Linked DNA regions of Homo sapiens: regions 1, 3, 4, 5, 6 and 7 are each linked to region 2. The links are contacts of gene promoters, found by promoter capture Hi-C in blood cells and fetal thymus (Javierre and others, 2016). All regions are on one chromosome and are shown on one strand. Each heading gives the region's core, a stretch centred on a gene start or on the middle of the fragment in contact. The rest is flanking DNA. Distances are from core to core; before and after follow the strand shown. Region 1 overlaps TOGARAM1 (TOG array regulator of axonemal microtubules 1). Region 2 holds the start of FBXO33 (F-box protein 33). Region 3 overlaps DORIP1 (dopamine receptor interacting protein 1). Region 4 overlaps FKBP3 (FKBP prolyl isomerase 3). Region 5 overlaps TOGARAM1 (TOG array regulator of axonemal microtubules 1). Region 6 overlaps PRPF39 (pre-mRNA processing factor 39). Region 7 overlaps TOGARAM1 (TOG array regulator of axonemal microtubules 1).

Evidence for each region. Contacts are between HindIII fragments. The CHiCAGO score rates a contact against its expected background, and 5 or more counts as called.
Region 1: a contact is called between a fragment that was not itself captured here and the fragment with the promoter of FBXO33 in region 2, in 2 of 17 cell types (naive B cells and M2 macrophages). The highest score is 12.0, in naive B cells.
Region 3: a contact is called between a fragment that was not itself captured here and the fragment with the promoter of FBXO33 in region 2, in 15 of 17 cell types (total CD4 T cells, non-activated CD4 T cells, activated CD4 T cells and 12 more). The highest score is 42.4, in total CD4 T cells.
Region 4: a contact is called between a fragment that was not itself captured here and the fragment with the promoter of FBXO33 in region 2, in 13 of 17 cell types (total CD4 T cells, total B cells, non-activated CD4 T cells and 10 more). The highest score is 36.3, in total CD4 T cells.
Region 5: a fragment that was not itself captured here is called in contact with the fragment with the promoter of FBXO33 in region 2 in 12 of 17 cell types (activated CD4 T cells, non-activated CD4 T cells, naive B cells and 9 more); the score reaches 20.0 in activated CD4 T cells.
Region 6: a contact is called between a fragment that was not itself captured here and the fragment with the promoter of FBXO33 in region 2, in 10 of 17 cell types (total CD4 T cells, activated CD4 T cells, non-activated CD4 T cells and 7 more). The highest score is 18.8, in total CD4 T cells.
Region 7: a fragment that was not itself captured here is called in contact with the fragment with the promoter of FBXO33 in region 2 in 9 of 17 cell types (total B cells, activated CD4 T cells, naive B cells and 6 more); the score reaches 20.0 in total B cells.

The regions. Positions count from the first base shown.
Region 1 is chr14:45,034,209-45,036,926 of GRCh38, reverse strand. The region is part of intron 11 of TOGARAM1 (TOG array regulator of axonemal microtubules 1); the gene reads right to left. Among named protein-coding and RNA genes, the nearest start is that of PRPF39-DT, 48 kb to the left of the region's middle. The HindIII fragment of the contact is 6,169 bases long and covers 1-2,718 here.
Region 2 is chr14:39,431,018-39,433,782 of GRCh38, reverse strand. FBXO33 (F-box protein 33) reads left to right here and starts at 1,350. Exons shown (of 4, transcript NM_203301.4): 1 at 1,350-2,219. The coding sequence starts at 1,621. It overlaps LOC105370461 (a long non-coding RNA gene), which reads right to left and starts at 1,344. Exons shown (of 8, transcript XR_007064121.1): 1 at 1,264-1,344. RefSeq lists silencers at 752-921, 1,662-1,791, 2,232-2,361 and an enhancer at 1,312-1,561. The HindIII fragment of the contact is 7,836 bases long and covers 1-2,765 here.
Region 3 is chr14:44,902,143-44,904,842 of GRCh38, reverse strand. It overlaps DORIP1 (dopamine receptor interacting protein 1), which reads right to left. Exons shown (of 5, transcript NM_001017923.2): 3 at 1,547-1,636; 4 at 314-448. All of the region lies in intron 1 of LOC101927418 (a long non-coding RNA gene), which reads left to right. Among named protein-coding and RNA genes, the nearest start is that of DORIP1, 6.2 kb to the right of the region's middle. The HindIII fragment of the contact is 5,407 bases long and covers 1-2,700 here.
Region 4 is chr14:45,128,013-45,130,712 of GRCh38, reverse strand. FKBP3 (FKBP prolyl isomerase 3) reads left to right here. Exons shown (of 7, transcript NM_002013.4): 2 at 1-14; 3 at 812-919. Among named protein-coding and RNA genes, the nearest start is that of FKBP3, 5.1 kb to the left of the region's middle. The HindIII fragment of the contact is 1,105 bases long and covers 871-1,975 here.
Region 5 is chr14:44,972,502-44,975,201 of GRCh38, reverse strand. All of the region lies in intron 1 of TOGARAM1 (TOG array regulator of axonemal microtubules 1), which reads right to left. Among named protein-coding and RNA genes, the nearest start is that of TOGARAM1, 12 kb to the right of the region's middle. The HindIII fragment of the contact is 4,950 bases long and covers 1-2,700 here.
Region 6 is chr14:45,104,754-45,107,537 of GRCh38, reverse strand. It overlaps PRPF39 (pre-mRNA processing factor 39), which reads right to left. Exons shown (of 14, transcript NM_017922.4): 6 at 1-87. Among named protein-coding and RNA genes, the nearest start is that of SNORD127, 4.7 kb to the left of the region's middle. The HindIII fragment of the contact is 6,663 bases long and covers 1-2,784 here.
Region 7 is chr14:45,051,102-45,053,951 of GRCh38, reverse strand. TOGARAM1 (TOG array regulator of axonemal microtubules 1) reads right to left here. Exons shown (of 20, transcript NM_001308120.2): 15 at 1,390-1,516. Among named protein-coding and RNA genes, the nearest start is that of PRPF39-DT, 31 kb to the left of the region's middle. The HindIII fragment of the contact is 167 bases long and covers 1,181-1,347 here.

The DNA.
Region 1 (2,718 bases), core at 175-2,674, 5.6 Mb before region 2:
CTCCCGCCATGATTCTGAGGCCTCCCCAGTCATGTGGAACTGTTAAATCCAATTAAACCTATTTTTCTTCTCCTCTTGGATATGTCTTTATCAGCAGCATGAAAACGGACTAATACAAAAATGAAAACCACAGTTGCACATCTACAAGGAAGACAATTCTTCCAAACAATGAGCTTCTAAGAAAATTGAAAGAAGAGATCACATCCCTGGCTGATACTTTGATTTCAGCCTAGTGGTATTTTGAGCAAAGAGCTGAGTTAACTTATATCTGATCTCTTGACCCAGAAAACTGAGAGTTAATCAATTTGTGTGGTTTGAATCCACTGAGTTTGTGGCAATTTGTTACATAACAATATAAAATAAATACTCTCATTAATATTCTTTGCTTTGAAATATACTTTGATATTAATATGGCCATGTAATCTATCTTTTGATTAGTGTTAGCATGGTATACATCTTTTTGAATCTCTACTTTTAACTTATTTGTATCTATATATTTAAACAGAATTTCTTATAGGTAGCATATAGTTGGGTCTTGCTTTTTAATCTAATCTCACTAGGGTGTTTAGTTCATCTACATTTAATGTGATTAGATGATTGGGTTTAAGTCTATCATCTTGCTGTTTGTTTTCTATTTGTCCCATCTTTTCTTTATAATTATTTTTATAGTTATATTTTATCTCCTTTGTTGCCTTGGTAAAGCAATACTGCCATGTCTTCCCTTTGGGCCTTTGTATCAAACTGTCAGACATTTTGCTTCTTTTAAAACTTTTTTTTTTTTTTTTTTTTTTTTTTTAGAGACAAGGTCTTGTTCTGTTGCTCAGGCTGCAGTGTAGTGGCACAATCACAGCTCACTGCAGCCTCGAACCCCTGGATTCAGGCAATCCTTCTGCCTCAGCCTCCTGATTAGCTGGGACTACAGAAACACATCACTGCATCCAGATTTTAAATTTTTTTTCTTTCTTTTTTTTTTTTTTTCTAGAGATGAGGTCTTGCTATATTGCAAAGGCTGGTCTTTAACTTCTGGGCTCAAGCAATCTTCCTGGCTTGGCCTCATAAAGTGCTGGGATTACAAGTGTGAGCCACCATGCCTGGCCCACTACTTTTATTTTTGAAAGATATTTTCATTGGATATAGAATTCTAGATTGACAGTTTGTTTTTCCTTTCAGTACTTTAAAGATCTCACTGAACTGTTTTTTGGTTTGCAGTGTATTTGATGAGTAGTCTGATCTTTGTTCTATATGTAATGTCTTGCCCCTAGCTATTTTTAAGATTTTCTCCATCCCTAATTTTAGGCCTTTTGATTATATCTCCTTTGAAATATTTCTTTTCATGTTTCTTGTGTTTGGTGTTCACTGAACTTCTTAGATCTTTGGGTTTATAGTTTTCATCCAATTTGAACAAATTTTGTCCATTTTTTTCTACAAATATTCTTTTCTGTCTCCTTCTCTGTCTGGTAACTCCAATTACACATAACTTGAAGTTGTCCCACAATTGACAGATTTTTTGGACTTTTTTTTCAGTCTTGTTTCTCTCATTGTTTCATTTTGATTTTTTTTTTTTACTTGAGACAGAGTCTCACCCTGTTGCCCAGGCTGGGTGCAGTGGTACGATCTCAGCTCACTGCAACCTCCGCCTCCCGGGTTTAAGCGATTCTCCTGCCCCAGTCGCCCCAGTAGCTGGGACTACAGGTGTGCATCACCACACCCAGCTAATTTTTGTATTTTTGGTAGACACAGGATTTTGCCTTATTGGTCAGGCTTCATTGTTTCATTTTGAATAGTTTCAATGGTTACGTCTTCAACTTCACTAATCTTTTCTTCTGGAATGTCTAACCTATTAATCTCATCCAGTGTATTTCCTATCTCAGACATTATAGCTTTCATCTGTAGATATTAGTTTTGGGTTTCTTATATATATTATATCTCTTTACTTGCTCAACCTTTCCTCCAGCCTCTTTAATGCATGCAGTAGTTACAGTTACAATGTCTTTGTCTACTAATTCTATCACCTGTGTCATTTTTGCATTGGTTTCACTTGGCTTTTTTTCTTCTCACTATTGGTTATATTTTCCTGCTTCTCTGCATGCCTGGTAATTTCACTTTAGCTATTTTTGTATTCCTATAAATATTCTTCAGCTTTGTTCTGGGATATAGTTATTTGAAAATGTATTTCAAATAAGGATCAAATGTTTGATCATCTTAGGCCTTGCTTTTAAACTTCATTGGGTAGGAACCAAACTAACATTCAGTCTATGGTTTATTTTACTACACTATGGAGCAAAACTCTGAGTATTCTACCCAATGCCCTGTGAATTATGAACTTTTCCACTCTGCTGGTGGGAACAGGAAGTATTATTAACATTGTATATGCTCCTGACATTGTTCCTTGTAACTTTTTTGAGTGGTTCTTGTTCTGGCCTCAGGAAATGTATTTACATGCATGCCCCGACCAGTTGTCTGCTAAACATTTGAGTAAAATCCTCTTATGATCTCTGGAGCTCTCTGTGGAGCTCTATCTGGCATTCTGTCCTGCAAAGTCTAGTCACCATGGCCTCCTCAAACTCTCAGCACCATGTCCATCTCTGATGCTATCTGCCTGTTTTCCCTCCCTTTAGCTGCAACCTGGAAACTCTCTCCAGAAAGCAAGCTGGGTAATTGTAGGGCTCACCTGGTTTGTTTCCTGTCTCTCAGAGATCAACATCTTTCCATAGCCTG
Region 2 (2,765 bases), core at 101-2,600:
CACGACTGGGGTCGCCCTCTAAGAGTTCATTAAAATTAATAAGGTATAATTACCTAAAACTCTTGTAAACAGGGGCTCGAATAAGTAACCTATCACAATTGATAAACCACACCATGTTGTTGGCAACCTGATATGTGCAAGGCATTAAACGGAGAGCTTTGCCCTCAAAGGGTTAAGAACATCTAGAATGGGGGTCTCCTCTTTCGTCTTGGGAGCCCCCTCCGTCTGTCTCTGTAGTGGGGAGCTTCTTCCTTCAGCCTTCTTCCTTCTTTCTTGCCTATTAAATTCTCCGCTCCTTAAAACCAAAAAAAAAAAAAAAAGTCCAAAAAGTCTTGGTGTTTACCACAAAAGAACGATGCTATTCCAACATCACAGCCTCCCTAAAGCAACTCTCAATTATTACATAAAGAGGCAGCCTCCCTAAAGCAACCCTCGATTATTACATAAAGTCACTTAATCTTTTCTGACTTCACCACTCTTTGCAACCAGAGTTTACTTTGCAGTAGGCTGTGGTGAAGTTAGGGACATGGTTTGGAAAATCTAAGTTAGGGATACCAGGCAAAAAAAGAAGAAGAAGAAAGAAAAAAAATCAAAGCTCTGTCATTACTGTGAACTTTTCAACGAGAGCCTTAAATCTCAGCACAGGGAAAAGAGACCCTTCCTCAAGCCCTGGAGAAGAGGCTGGTCACAACCTGCGGATCTCAGATCCCTTTGCCAATTTTTTTCTCTCCCTCTGAATCCAAAGGGTGACGCTGTCCTCACTGCTTCCCCACACACCAGCGAGTGCGCGGAAGTCCACCTGCGTGGTTGGACCGAGGGGGCAGGTCCATTCGCGGCCTCCGCCACGCCCCACACCGCCCCTCCCGGCACAGCCCGCCGGGGTTAGCCCGCCCGTCCGCCAGCTCCCTCTCAGCGGCGCAATCTCAGGAATTCTTAACCCTACTCTGGGCAGGTGGGATGGCTGAGAAAGACCCTGCATGCCGCCACTTTGGCTCAGGGTCCTCAGCCCAAACTGAGAAACGTTTTACAAAGAAGCGTGACGACCTTTCGCACTAAACCAGAGTACCGCCACCTCCATCGACCGAGCGCCAAAATTAACCGACTTACAGATGTGACTGGGCGCAGCGGCCACCGTAAGGCGTAAGGGGTGCCAAGTGCCGGTTCCAGTCCCGCCCAGCCCCGCCCCGCCCCGCCCCGCCCAGCCCCGCCCCGCCCCGCGGCCTGCGTGCGTCAGAGATCACGTGCCGCGCCTCCCGTCCCTACAGGCAATCGGGCGCTCCCCTCTTCCGGAAGTCGCGCCGGTGCGCGCCGGACTCCTCCCACCAGCGGCGACGTCAAACTCAGCTCCTACCACTTCTCTGTCTCTGCCGACCGGCGCAGGGAGGGCTGCCTTTTCCTTACAGTACGCCTTGAGGCTTCCGGGCCGCTGAAGTTTACGAGCGAGGGCAGTGCAGTTACTCAGTGTGCCGGCCTCGGACGCACGTGAGTAGAGTTTGAGAAGACAGAGGCTGGCTCCCGGCAGGCCACGCCCGCAGAGGCCTTTCCCCCTCTCCACAACTTGTGTTCTACTTGGTTCCGCCGAGACCCACGACGGTTCCGCCCCCTTCTTCCTAGTCATTGATGTTGTTGTTCTTGTCAGTGCCGCAGCCCCGACCGCCGGGAGCTCGAACCCGAGCCGGGGCCGCCCGGGTGGCGCGGTGGCGGCGGCTGCGGCTGCAGCAGCTGCGACGGCTGCGGGGGCTGCTCCGGGTACTGCGGGGGCGGCCGGGAGCCGGCAGCCGGCGGCGGGGCCGGATGGCTCTGTGCGGGCAGGCGGCGGGCGCTGCGTCGCTGCCCAGCGAGCTGATCGTGCACATCTTCTCTTTTCTGCCGGCGCCCGACCGGCTGCGGGCCTCGGCCTCCTGCTCGCACTGGCGTGAGTGCCTCTTCTATCCGGCCCTGTGGCCCCAGCTCCGCATCTGCCTCCGCGTCTCGCCCGCGGAGCAGCCTCGGCTGGAATTCCTCATGCGCAAGTGCGGCTGGTTCGTGCGAGAGCTGCGTGTTGAATTCGCCGCCGAGAACTATCTGAGCGGCGGTGGCCCAGGGGACGGAGGTGGCGCGGACACCGGGACTGGAGGGGAGGAAGTCGAGGCCCTGCAGCTCTCAGCTCGTTGGCTGGAAGTGCTGCGCACCTACTTGGAGCTGGTGCTTTGCGTGCTGGTCAGCATCCGGAACAACAGGTAGGCTTGCCCTGAGCCCCGCCCCGCCCGGTAACGGGGGGTCGCTCCGTCCCCGCACCCCGACACAGATTCTGTGCATAATACGTGCCCGGCCAACTTCAGTGTTGCCTTCCTCAGTGACGGAGAGTGTTGGTTCTAACTAGGCGGTTTCCTTGAGCGGAAAGGCATAACGGGACTCATCACGATACTTTATAAACAGTGGTGGACGGGGTGTTTAACAGACACCACTTCTGGCGCCTTCCAGGCACTCATTCATCCTCTTGGTGGCCGTGGGATGGAGCTGACAGGCGCTGTCACTTTTCATTTTATATATGGGAGCGTTAAGACTGGGAGGGTGAGGCCTGTGGGTGAGCCTTGGAAGAAACAAAACATACACATAACACGATTTTCTGACTCTGAATCTGTTAGAAATAGTTCATGGTGAGGGAAGGAGTAGGTACTCATAGGACGCTGCCTAAAAGAAATTTTGTAACAGCCATTTTCTTACCAGAAATAGTTTCGGCTAACTGAACAAGGCCCGAAGAGGAGGAGGAGTGTTTGTTAAAG
Region 3 (2,700 bases), core at 84-2,583, 5.5 Mb before region 2:
ATCATCTGTGTTTTATAGATAAGAAAACTGACATGTAAACTGGTTAAGTTGTTGGCCCAAGGTTAACTTATAAAAGATGGGGCTAGGATTTGAACCCAATTCTGTCTATTCTGTAGTCCACACACCTACCCACTATGTGCACTGCTAGTAACTGACTCTCTGTAATAAATTCTGATTCTATTCAGAATACATAAATTTAGAGACAGATATGATTGTTTTCAACAATATCTCTTAAGGGCTAGTCAAAATCATAATATAACAGGATAAATTTTTTTTATTAGTTTTATAAAGAAACAACAACAAAAACACCTACTTGTGATCAGACAAATCCAAGTAATAGGGTACATACGCCAGATCTTCAGATTTCCAATGTTGCATATTTAAGACAACAAAAGGGGGTGCCCCATGGCAGAAAATTCGTTGGGAAAATTCTCTTAAGCCACCACACCTAAAATAGAAAACAGGCATGAACATTATTACACTTGGGACAAAGCTGGCTTTCAACACTTCAGAGTTGTCTTTATGACTTTAATTTTCTTATAATTATCTATTATAGGTGTAGGTAATGGTTAATACCTATAGTTATAGGGTAATTACTACCTTATATCACCTAATAGTTCCAGAAGTTTATAAGCTGTGTTCCTTACACTAGAAATGACACGTTTAAAACTCCAGGAAATGCTGGCTATTTCTGTATAAGCCTATGAAAGCATAACTCTGCAGAACTGATACAAACGCTTTTATATTTCACTCTATATGCTGGTTTCAAATAATGGCAGAGAGGGGAAAAATATGACTCTAATTGCTTCCTTTTGCCATTAGACTCGACTATAAGCATGAACAAATTGTTTCCTCATATTATGAGGTATTAAGTATATGGATCAGAATATAACATATTGAATTATACAGTAAAATCTTGATTAACCGGAATGCTCAGGGTACAGTATTCTGGTTAACAAACATTATTAACTAAACCAAATTAACCAGAAAACCATCTGTTTCAGTATTTGTTGCTACAATATATTCGTTCACTTTCTGGACTTAATAGGTACAATTAACAGAACATATTTTTACCTTTCCTTTTGTAATTAATCAGCAATAAGATCATCCTTCTAAATATTAATTCTCATTATACAATAATGTAGTCACAGAAAATTTTAAGAGATTGGGATGAATATGTTCTGCTTCTCTCAACTTTTACTAGGTTAAGTTTTTTAGTTGTCATTTACCTCTTTCTCCTAAATGGAGAGTGCAGAAAAAAATCCAGATAATTGAGGGTCCCAATTAGCTGGGTTCCAGTTAACCAAGGTTTTATTGTACCTACTCAGCAGTGGGGGGGGAAAAAAGAAAAGGTATTTGCTTTGTATTCATCAATCAGCTGTAGTACCATATTCTATGTAGTGATATACTCCGTAACAAAAACACTGTAAAATGTCATAGTAAACTAGGTTAATAAGATTCATAAAGTACTTCAAGGAGCACATCTGCCTAGGTTTCCTTATAAACACATACATACTGTCATTTTAAATGTCTATTGTATACTCACCCATGCTCTTCACACAGTTCAATCTTGGAACAGAATAACTCATTCACAGCCAGTCTTATCAAGTTTCCATGTGGAATTTCTTGGGGAGGACTATAATAATTATTAAATGCATGTAAGAACTGCTTCAACATTTTATATCTTAATATATTATAACAAATTTTACAGCTCAGTCCTTTATTAGCAAAACCAGTTATACCAAGTATAACCTTTATGACACATTCAGAATTTCTTGCAGATAGTATAGAAACCAGTTGAACTCAAACACTAATTATGAAATTTTCAAAGAAACATATTTTTGTATAAACAATCCTGATATATCCAGTTGCTGCTATGATAATTTAAAACATTTGTGAGAAGATTCAAAAGAGGCAATCTGGTCTCGTGGGAAGGAACTAGGACCCAGAATCAGAGGAGCAGCTGATTAGTTACCTGATTAAATGTAAGTAATAATCATTCTTGGCCTCAAGTACCTGATCCGTTAAAAAAAACTTTTTTTCTACATTACTTCAGAGGTTGCTTTAAATATAGGATTTTTTAAAAAGTAGGCAAAAACTTAAAAGTTATAGAGTATGATGAAAAATATTTTATTCAATAGTATAAAATATAGAATTATAAATATTTCATTATAGTTTCAAAATATTTACAGATGAAACTAGTTTTTAAAAAACAAGATATTAGGCTGGGTGTGGTGGCTCACGCCTGTAATCCCAGCACTTTGGGAAGCTGAGGTGGGTGAATCAGAAGTTTGAGACCAACCTGGGCAACACAGCAAGATCCTATCTCTAAAAAAAAATACAAAAATTAGCCGGGCATGGTGGTACATGCCCCTGGTGCCAGCTACTTGGGGGTGCTGAGACAGGAGGATCTCTTGAACCCAGGAAGTCAACGTTGCAGTGAGCTGTGATCACACCATTATACTTCAGCCTGGGAGATGGAGTGAGACCCTGTCTCAAAAAATAAAAAAATAAATAAAACATTAGCTGGGCATGGTGGCATATACCTGTAGTCCCAGCTACTGGAGAGGCTGAAGTAGTGAGCCATGAGGCAGGAGGATCACTTGAGCCCGGGAGTTCAAGGCTGCAGTGAGCTATGATCACTGCAACACTTCTGAGTTGTCTTTATGACTTGATAATTATTTCCATTGATTGATATTT
Region 4 (2,700 bases), core at 174-2,673, 5.7 Mb before region 2:
TTTTTGAAACTAAGGTGAGTATTGTTAGATTCTGTTAGCAGAACATCACTTTTGAAATTTTATTTCCAAAAAAGATGTTTAAAATGCATTGATTTGTTGAATGTGTTGGAGCTTTTCCACCTGTAATTTTTCTGAACTGTTATCATAAGTGGACTAGCTGTCAAATCTAGCAAGGCTAATCTGCAGTATGGCAGAATGTTTCAGTATTTTCAAAGGGTCTGGATTTTGTAGCTTAAATTGAGACAACAAATTCTTAAGTCCACTGAAGTTATAAATTCATTAGGTCAGTGGTATTACCGTATTACTTTAGCATATGGTGTATATTAAATGTATTTTGTTGTTGTTTTATTATATATGTTAAATGTTATATTGAAAATAAGTTTCCATTTCACTAATGAATTTAAAGTCTGGTTTAGATTTAGGCTGAGCTTTACAAAAATACATTTTAAGACATTCTCCCACATTTGTTTACTATGAAATGAATATCTTCCACAGGAAAGAAATCTTTATTTAGGAGTTATTTGAATAGTGCTTATATCTCTGGGTATGAGTTGGCCTTTCTAAGGTCATGGTTCTCATTTCAGAATTTATATTGTAAGCTGGTTTGAGGGTAATCATTTATTGTTTAAAAATAAATTATGAGCAAAATTCTTTCTTTGCTCTTCGTTTCCTTAGACCATTTATTCACAATTGTGTTATACAACCTATATTTATTATGCAGATGTTCATTTAATTGAGAGGCTGAAAATCTTGATGTTGCTTCTTGGTTTTAGCCTGTCCTGGGTATGATGTTACAACATTTTCCTTACAGCGTTTTAAGGGTACTGAAAGTATAAGTAAAGTGTCTGAGCAAGTAAAAAATGTGAAGCTTAATGAAGATAAACCCAAAGAAACCAAGTCTGAAGAGACCCTGGATGAGGTCTGTATATAATTATTTTTTTATTTTATCATGTGGAGTCTAGAAATTGTATTTATTTCTTTATTATTTGCACTAACTTCTCATAGTGAAGGGTGGTTGAATACGACCACTTTCAATGAGCCAAACACTTAATGTAGTGGGCCATTTCCCTTAGGTGTACTGGGACAGAAATAATCCTAAGAACTAGTGCTTTACAGTTATTAGCCTATTCTGTGAAACACTTCTGATATTGTATTTAATATCGCCTCCACATCTGTCCAGACCTTCTGAGCTTTCAAAGCTATTTTAAGGCCTTGATTCTATAGCCAAGTTGGACTAAGTGAAATACATTTTCTTTTGATTATTTTTAGCTTTTTCTAATGTACATGGTGTCCCTGGCAATAGAAATAATCCAGGCTTGGCTGCAGGATGTGGGTTCATCTGTCTCAGTTTTCCCAACTCAGGTTTTATACTTTGGTACAAAGGTTTGAAGAACCAGATTAATTCATTCCTGCAAATTGACAGCCTTAGTAGAGCTAAGATCAGCTACTAAGAACTGACTTAGCAGAGCTGAATTGATTATAATCTTGTCATTTCTGATAATACCTTACTATCTAAGCTCACTCATTGCCAGCAGTCTTAGTATCAGTGATAATAATCTATTTTTAGTTCTTGTAAAGAGGTGAGGCTATTGATGACAGTGTAGCTTTTGGGTATTTGTGGAAAGTGTAAGTTCAGTTATACAATTATAGATGTTTATTTGATTAAAGCTAGTTAATTTTGCATGATCTTTTCCTATTGGCTAAAAAGCACAAATTAATGTTTATAGGTATATGTGCACACAAAGCAGTTTTAAAGTTTATCACAATTAATATTTAATAAATGTTATATCTATTGAGTAGCTACTAAGGTAAATGGAGCAATTATTATTGAAGGGTTTCAGAAGCAACTGGCAACATAGTTCACCCTCCAGGAAATTAGAATGAGGATGGTTTTAGGAGACAGATAATATTTCATTAAGGAGTTAAGAAAATAAAAGGTAAATTCATAAGAGCTAGAGACAATCTAGAGCAAGCTTATGAGGGTCCTAAACTCTATCATTTTATTTAAAACCTCTTCGTTTAACTGGCCAGCTTGAGCCCATTTATGTACTGTGACTGTTTTCCTAGCGTCCTACATTCAAAAGCCTCTTGTCCATTTCCTTGCTAACCCTCGTTGTCTACTCTCTGTCTTCATGCTTTGGGACTGGAGAGCAGGCATTATAAACATATAATCATAAAACCTTTTATTGAGCCTGGTATAAATTCATGCTTAATATTAGCCAAGCATGTTTTCTAGTTTCATTGCTACTCAACAACATTTATACTATCCTTTGCCCAGTTCTCCATCACATTGCTCATTGCTCACATAAAGTATTTGACATTTTCTCACAAATTCTCAGTCCCTTCTTACTCCTTTCTCTTTTTTTGTTTTTGTTTTTGTCTTTGAGACAAAGTCTCACCCAGGCTGGAGTGCAGTGGTGCCATCTTGGTTCACAGCAACCTCCCCCTCCTGGGTTCAAGTGATTCTCCTGCCTCAGCCTCCCCAGTAGCTGGGACTCCAGGCAGGCGCCACCATGCCCAGCTGATTTTTGTATTTTTAATAGAGACGCAGTTTCTCCATGTTGGCTGGGCTGGTCTTGAACTCCTGACCTCAAGTTATCCGCCCACCTAGGCCTTCCAAAGTGTTGGGATTACAGGCGTGAGCCACTGCCCCTGGACTCCCTTCTCATTATATGCTCCTGTGTTCTGTAGTGCCAAAAT
Region 5 (2,700 bases), core at 18-2,517, 5.5 Mb before region 2:
ATGTTTTCAGTTGATCTGTGTCAAAGTGGCTAATGAAAACATACACAGAAAGGGGAAAATTCTGTTTTTAATCATTTAGCAATTTGGAGCAAAATTATTGCTTTCTGGTATATAAAAAATATACACAGAGAGGGGTAAAGGAAGCAAGAATCTCTTTGTTAAAATGCTAAAGAAATTGGGAGAGCCAACCATAAAATTACACTCATCAAAAGTGTAATTAAAGCACTACAGAACACTTCCCCCCTCCCTCACCTTAATTGTACATTACTAAAGACCTATTTACCACAGTTCTTTTATTTAGTATATCACATCTACCTGTCAACAAAATTTATAAGGCACAGTGAAAGGTAAAAACAAAGTCTGAAGAGACAGAACAAGCATCAGAACCAGCATCAGATATGGCAGGAATGTTGTATTAACTTTTTTTTCCAGACACACACACCGAAAGGGGTAAAGGCATCAAGAATTCTCTTTTTTAAAATGCTAAGATATTTTATGCCAACCATAAAATTACGCTCATCAAAAGTGTAATTAAAGCACTATAGATCACTTCCCCACCTCCCACACCTTAACAGTATATTACTAAAAAACTATTTACCACAGTTCCTTTTACTTACATTATGTCTACCTATCAACAAAAAATAATAAGGCACAGTAAAAGGGAAAAACAAAGTCTGAAAAGACAGAACAAGCATCATAACTAGAATTGGATATGGCAGGAATGTTGAAGTTAACATACCAGAATTTTCTAAAACTATAATTAATATACTAAGGGCTATAATGAAAAAAGACAACATGTAAGAACAAAAGGATAATATAAGTCATGAAGCGTTACTTCTAAGAAGGAACACAAAAGAAACCTAGAAATCAAAAACACTGTAACAGAAAGAAAGAATGCCTTTAATGGGCTCATTAGTAAACTGGACATAGCTGGGGAAAGTATCTCTGAGCTTGAGGATGTGACAATAAAAACTTCCAAAACTGAAAGAAAAAAGCCTGAAAAAAAGAGAAGAGAATATACAAGAACTGTGGGAAAACTACAAAACGTGTAACATATGTATAATGGGATTACTAGGAAGAGAATATAGAAAAGAATAGAGGAAATATTTGAGGCAATAATTACTGAGAATTTCCCCCAATTAATGTCAGAAACCTAACCACAGATCTAGGAAACTCAGAGAAAAACCAGGAGAAAGGTCAGAAAAACTACACCTAGGCATATCATCTTCAAACTACAAAAAATCAAAAATAAAGAAAAATCCTGAAAGAAGATAAAGGAAAAACAAAACAAAACAGAACATTACCTATAGGGGAGCAAAGATAAGAATTACATCTAACTTCTCAGAAACCATACAAAGAAGAAGAAAGTGGATTGGAATATTTAAAGTATTGAGAGAAAAAAAAAACCCATCAATTTAGAAGTCTATACCCTGGGAAATAATCTTTCACAAGTGAAGAAAAATAAAGACATTCTCAGACAAACAGAAATTGAAAGAAGTTGTTGTTAGTAAGACCTGCCTTGTAAGAAACATTGAAGTTTTTCAGAGAAAAGGAAAATTATATAGGTCAAAAACCTGGAGAGAGATATATATATATGTATATATAGAGAGAGAGAGAGAGAGAAAGTACACTGGAGGAGAATAAGTAAAGGTTAAAAAAAAAACTTATTTTTCATATTTTTAACAGATCTAACAGAAAATCATTCAAAATAATAATAGCAACAATGTATTTGATTATGTATGCTTATGTGTGTGTCTGTGTGTTTATGTATAAATGAAATGAATGACAGCATTAAACAGGTGACAGGGAGGAAGAAATTACAAATATTCTGTTATTATAAGGTACTTGGGTTACCTGTGAAGCAGTATATTGTTACTGAAAGTGAACGTGGATTAGTTAGTTGTAAATGTGTATTACACACTCTAGGGAAACTACTAAAAAAAAGTAATTTAAAAAAAAAGGAGCAGCAGCATAACTGATATGCTAAGAAAGAAGAGAAAACTGAATCATGTTAAATTCTCAATTAAAACCACAAGGAGCCAAAAAACAGAAGACAAAAACAGGAACAAAGATCATGAGCAACAAATAGAAAACAACAATTATGGTAGATATTAATCCAACTATATCAATAAACTCTTTAAATGTCTAACAATTAAAAGACAGATTGTCAGAGTGGTCAAAAAACAAAACCCAAGTTCAGTAAGTTCTCACTTAATGTTACTGATAAGTTATTCAAGACTGCCACTTTAAGCACAACGATGTATAACAAAACCAATTTTTTTCCTCATCAACATTATAGCAAAATGATGTTGAACAAAATAACGTTATTTGAGGACTTACTGTATGTCATTTCACTGAAAGTCACGGTTTCCAAGAGCCTATCAAGGAACTTAAATGAGTAATTACTATATAGGCTGTCTACAAGAAACCCATTTTAAATATAAAGATAGATATAAATTAAAAGTAAAGAGATGGAGAAAGGTACACCATGCTAACATTAATCAAAAGAAATCAAGAGTAGCTATATTAATTTCAGACACAGCAGACTTCAGAGCAAGAAAAGTTATCAGGGATAAAGAGGGGCCTCACATAATAGCAACAGGATTAATATTCCAAGAAAACAAAACAATTCTTAATGTGTGCCCAACAACAGTGTCAAATTAAATGAGGCAAAGACTGATAGAATTACAAGAAAAAATA
Region 6 (2,784 bases), core at 171-2,670, 5.7 Mb before region 2:
ACAGAAGCTAATTCCCTTCGCAACTGAATAAACTGTTCACCAGTTAAAAGATCTCTAGGCAAATTATTCTGTACATGTTCTTTAAATCTAAAGGAAGACAATAAAAATATATGTATTTGAATCATAATTTTAGATCTCATATTGAGATTCCTACTATATACTACTCTTTCAAAGGATTTGATTTAAAAAAGAAACCAAAATATCATACCTTTTCTCCTTCTTTTCTATAGTAAAATCCTACCATATATGATAAAACACTACCATATGATAAAACAGTCTATAGACATCTTCAATTTCTTCCTACCTTTACAGTGGAATGGAGAAGGCATGGACGGGCATAAATTCAAACCTCAGTTCTGTCTGTTACTGGTTATCTGACTAGGGAAGGTTTTCTTTTCTCTAAATCTTAGTTTCCTCAATTGTAAAATAAGATGATAATACCTATTCGTGTGTCATAGAATCTATTTTACTACAAAGACATAAAAGTTACAGTAAAATTAAATACTGTAATCCATATTTAAATTCTAAATGATCACTTGTAAATAACCAACAAATATAGCATTTCCTTCCCACCTCCCAAATACTCCTCATCCACATGTGAGTACGCAAAAATCCAATGAAACTGCCCAATTAAGATTATCAATTACCTCATATATAAAATTAAATGGACACTTGTTTTGTAGTATGGTCCTCCAAGCCTCTGACTGCTGCTCTATGTCTTATTCCCCTTCTTACCTGCCCTAAATGCTACTATACCCAAGTATTCCACTCTCCATTTGGTTCTCATCTATTTTTATTAATACATACTTCTGGCCAATCTCATTCATACAGCTTGAAATAAGTATACCATGATGACTCTCAAAACTACAACACAAGTCCAAACCTTTCTCCTAATCACATTAGCATATACAACTGCCAATACTCTGCACAAAGAAATGTGGATTAGTTTTAAGCTAATCTATAAAAAGATTTTTGAAAAAAATATCATTTCACTATTTTATAAAAACATGCAATAATTTGTATACATACAAATTGTAATCAAAAATACCAGGTTGAGGAGCTAAAATATCTACACTATCACAATTTGAATATACCTTTGGAACCTCAAATATGAAATATTTTAAAATAAGTATGGCATCTTCATCTGAAAATGAATACCCTCAGTATTTCTTTCTTTATTTTCTTGTGTGAGATGGAGTCCTGCTCTGTTGCCCAGGCTAGAGTGCAATCGTTCTATCTTGGCTCACTGCAAGCTCCACCTCCCGGGTTCAAGCAATTCTCCTGCCTCAGCCTCCCAAGTAGCTGGGATTACAGGTGCGCACCACCACGCCCAGCTAATTTTTCTAATTTTAGTAGAGACGGGGTTTCACCTTGTTGGCAGCCTGGTCTCGAACTCCTGACCTCAGGTGATCCACCCGCCTCAGCCTCCCAAAGTGCTGGGATTACAGGTGTGAGCCACCGTGCCCCGCCACCCTCAGCATTTCTAATATTGATTAATGGTACTGTCAACCACTACATCTCTCAATCTCTTCCACCTAGCTTTTCATTTACATTAGATACCAGGTCCTACTGACTGTACCTTTTAAATACATGTTCATCACCTCGGGACTTTTAAGCTGGATAAACATAAAATGACCTTGCAGCCTCTAGTCTCACAACTCCCATTCCCACCTCTATACTACTATCAGAAATGTTACTAAAAAGTAAGCAAACAGGTCAGGCGCCTGCTGACGCCTGTAATCCCAGCACTTTGGGAGGCTGAGGTGGGCGGATCACCTGAGGTCAGGAGTTTGAGACCAGCCTGGCAAACACGCTGAAACCCATCTGTACCAAAAATACAAAAATTAGCTCCGTGTCGGGGCGGGCACCTGTAATCCCAGCTACTCGGGAGGCTGAGGCAGGAGAATCACTTGAACCTGGGAGGTGGAGGCTGCAGTGAGCCAAGACTGCACCACTGCAATCCAGCCTGGGCAACAGAGCGAGATTTCACCTCAAAAAAAAAAAAAAAAAAAGTATATAAATAACATTGGAATCTAATTTAAATTTTGCAAAGTCAATGGATACAGAGGCTAACGGCCCATTTCAGCACCAGGTGGAAAAAAATTAACAAAGATTGCCTTATGTTAAAAAATTAAAAATAAGGAAGTAACTCTCAAATATGTAGTATGAAAAAACAGATTTAATTACAGATGAATATTAAAACTCAGAATGGTCAACAAATGAATTAAAAACTTAAGGTAAAATTTCAAAATAACTACATACAGTACATAAATCTAAAATGACTTATTGCTACATCATGTAACAACTTCTTTAAAACAGTGACAAAATGTGCATAATATTAAGCAGTATTTTTTCAGCAGTTTTTTGTATTATAAAGCTAACATTTATTCAGTAAAGACTGGCTGACTGCCTAATATATATTGAGCTCTATTCCTAAATATTAGAGATACAAAGAATTAAGCCTCAGAAACTGACAGGCATGTTGAGGATATAAGAGACATAAATTCAAAGCAGTGTTACTGGTGCTAATATAAATGTAAATAAATGTAGGTAAAGTCATGGCACAAATAACAGACTAGGTATCTCAGTATAGGAGAACCAGAGAAAATTTCACAGAGAAGACACAAAACTGTGTGGTCTCAGGGAATATAAGTCCACTAGACAAGTGGAAAGAGGAAAAGGTATTACAGTCATAAAGATATAAAACAACACTGCCCTTTGGGAAGTTATCAGACTTAGGTGTGTCTAGAGCTCAGGAACCACCAGGGATTGGACCTGGATGTT
Region 7 (2,850 bases), core at 15-2,514, 5.6 Mb before region 2:
GCTAAGATCATGCCACTGCACTCCAGCCTGAGCGACAGAGCATGACTCTGTTTCAAAATAATAATAATAATAATAATAATATGCTGTATTTCGTAACTACTCTTCTTAAAGCTTAAAATCTATGTAGAATATATGAACACAGTCCATAAACACTGAACACTGTTGTTCCTATGCAACATTAGGAGTGTGAGAATAAACATTTTGATGAGAACTATTTAAAACTTTTCCTGTACTGGAAAGACTCACAGATGCAATCTGCTTCATTTTAGTCAGATTATTTTTTTTTGCATGGTTATATTAATAAGTTCTAATATGAACTAAGCTGAAACCTTCAGGCTCAACGGGCAGAAAAAAATGCTCTAAAATGTCTATTGCTACATTATTTTTGTAATATTATTCCTTCACAAGTGAGTCCTTATCCCAAGGTCATCAGAGAGAAATGACATAAATTACAATAGAAAAATTTTACTTTATTAAATTAAACATATTTTTAAATTAATATGTAAATAGATTACTTTTCATATTTTATTTCACTTGGTATTCTCTCAGTCACTCATTTATCAGACATTACTGAATTCCCATTATCTACCAGGACAAATAAGACATGGCATGGCTGGGCGCATTGGCTCTCGCCTGTAATCCCAGCACTTTGGGAGGCCGAGTCAGGCGGATCACCTGAGGTCAGGAGTTCAAGACAAGCCTGGCCAACATGGTGAAACCCCGTCTCTACTAAAAAATACAAAAAATTAGTTGGGCGTGGTGGTGGGCACCTGTAATCCCAGCTACTCGAGAGGCTGAGGCAGGAGAATCGCTTGAACCCAAGAGGTGGAGGTTGTAGTGAGCCGAGATCACACCACTGCACTCTAGCCTAGTGGCACAGCAAGACTCTGTCTCAAAAGAAAAAAAAAAAAAAAAAAAAGACATTGCACTTACCCTCAAGGAGCTCCCTAAAAATGTTCTGCAGTGTGGTAATAGCTCTAATAGTGGGACATGCAAGGTAAATAAAGCAGGGACTAAACATGGTAAACATTATTATCCTCATTTTATAAAGTGAGAATTCTAGTTAGAGAAATGAAGAGGCATGTGTAAGTTACACAGTTGCTAACTGTTAGAGCTGCAATTCAAACCCATGTCTTGTTAACTCCAATAAGCCAAACTATATTCTACCAAACATCAAGCTTCTGTGCAATAAACATTTACTTCCAAGGCTTGACAATATGTATGTCTACTTAGTATTGTAATTGTTGAAATGCTATTGCAGATATAGTCCAATAGTCCAAATGATTAACAGAGAAATAATCAAATAAATAATTATTCCTATCCTTTACCTGGATGTAAAAACAAGCTTTGCTTATAAAGCTGTTTATAAAACAAACTTTTCCCACATACCTTTTGCTGTAAGTTTCTAACAGAGTCCTTAATATATGGCAAATCTTTAGATGGGACATACTTTTCAAGCATTTTTTCAAAGTTAGGATGACACATCATGAAGAACAGCATCTTTCGACCATAATACCTGTGAGTATTTGAAAAACAGGTATATTACTTTTTAGACATTAATAAGCTCAGTTGCTGACCTTAGATGCATTGTTTCAATAGAAAAAAAACACCTATCAAACATCAAGATTACCATCCCTATATTAAATAACCATGAAAATATAGATATCCTAACTGTATAGGATACCCTAGAGGGTACAGATGGTCTCCGACTTACAACGGTTTGACTTATAATTTTTCAACTTTATAATAGTGTGAAAGAGATATGATTCTGTGGAAACCATACTTTGAATTTTGACTTTTTCCATGGCTAGTCATATGCAGTATGACACTCTTTTAAGATGCTGGGCAGCAGCAGCGAGCCACAGCTCCCACTCAGCCATATGATCACCATACTCTACAATGTACTGTGTTGCCAGATGATTCTGTCTAAGCGTAGGCTAATGTAAGTGTTCTCAGCATGTTTAAGGTAAGGCTTGGCTACATTATGATGTTTGGTAGGTTAGGTGTTTAAATGCACTTTTGGCTTATGATAATTCCTATTCATGATGGGTTTATTGGGATATAACCTCATTGTAAGTTAAGAAGCATCTGTGGCCAGGTACAGTGGCTCACGCCTGTAATCCCAGCACTTTGGGAGGCCAAGGCAGGTGGATCACAAGGTCAGGAGTTCGAGATCAGCCTGGCCAACATGATGAAACCCCGTCTCTCCTAAAAAAATACAAAAATTAGCCAGATGTGTTGGCGTGCTCAGGTAATCCCAGTTATTCAGGAGACTGAGGCAGGAAAATCATTTGAATCCAGGAGGTGGAGGTTGCAGTGAGCCGAGATCACACCATTGCACTCCAGCCTGGGCAACAGAGTGAGACTGCGTCTCAAAAAAAAAAAAAAAAAAAAAAAAGCATCTGTTGGGATGCTCCCATAATCCCCCTTTAAAGTCACTGTCTTCAAATCCTTCTGCCATGTGCCAGATGGAGAGACAAAAGCTTTGATTCTATTTTTCAGGCACCCCAAGGTCCATATCAATGCTGGCATTTGGGAGAATTGTGAAGTTTTCCTCCATCCTGGGCTCCTTGCCCATTGACCATTTGCTGTCCACCTAAGGGCCAGATGTTCTGGCCTGAGTCAACCCTCCCTAGGTCCTGTATTTCTCATTCTCTGTTTTTCCCTAGCCAAAACTTACCAGGGTTCTGATTCTTCAGAATCCTATTCTTTACTACCTAAAATACACCCAAGGTTAGTTGATAAAATTGTGACTGATATGTTAATACAGGTAATAATCTCAAAAACTAGGTTTTCTTATTTATATGAATTATAAAATAATCATCTTAGCATAATACTTTAAGCCCAATG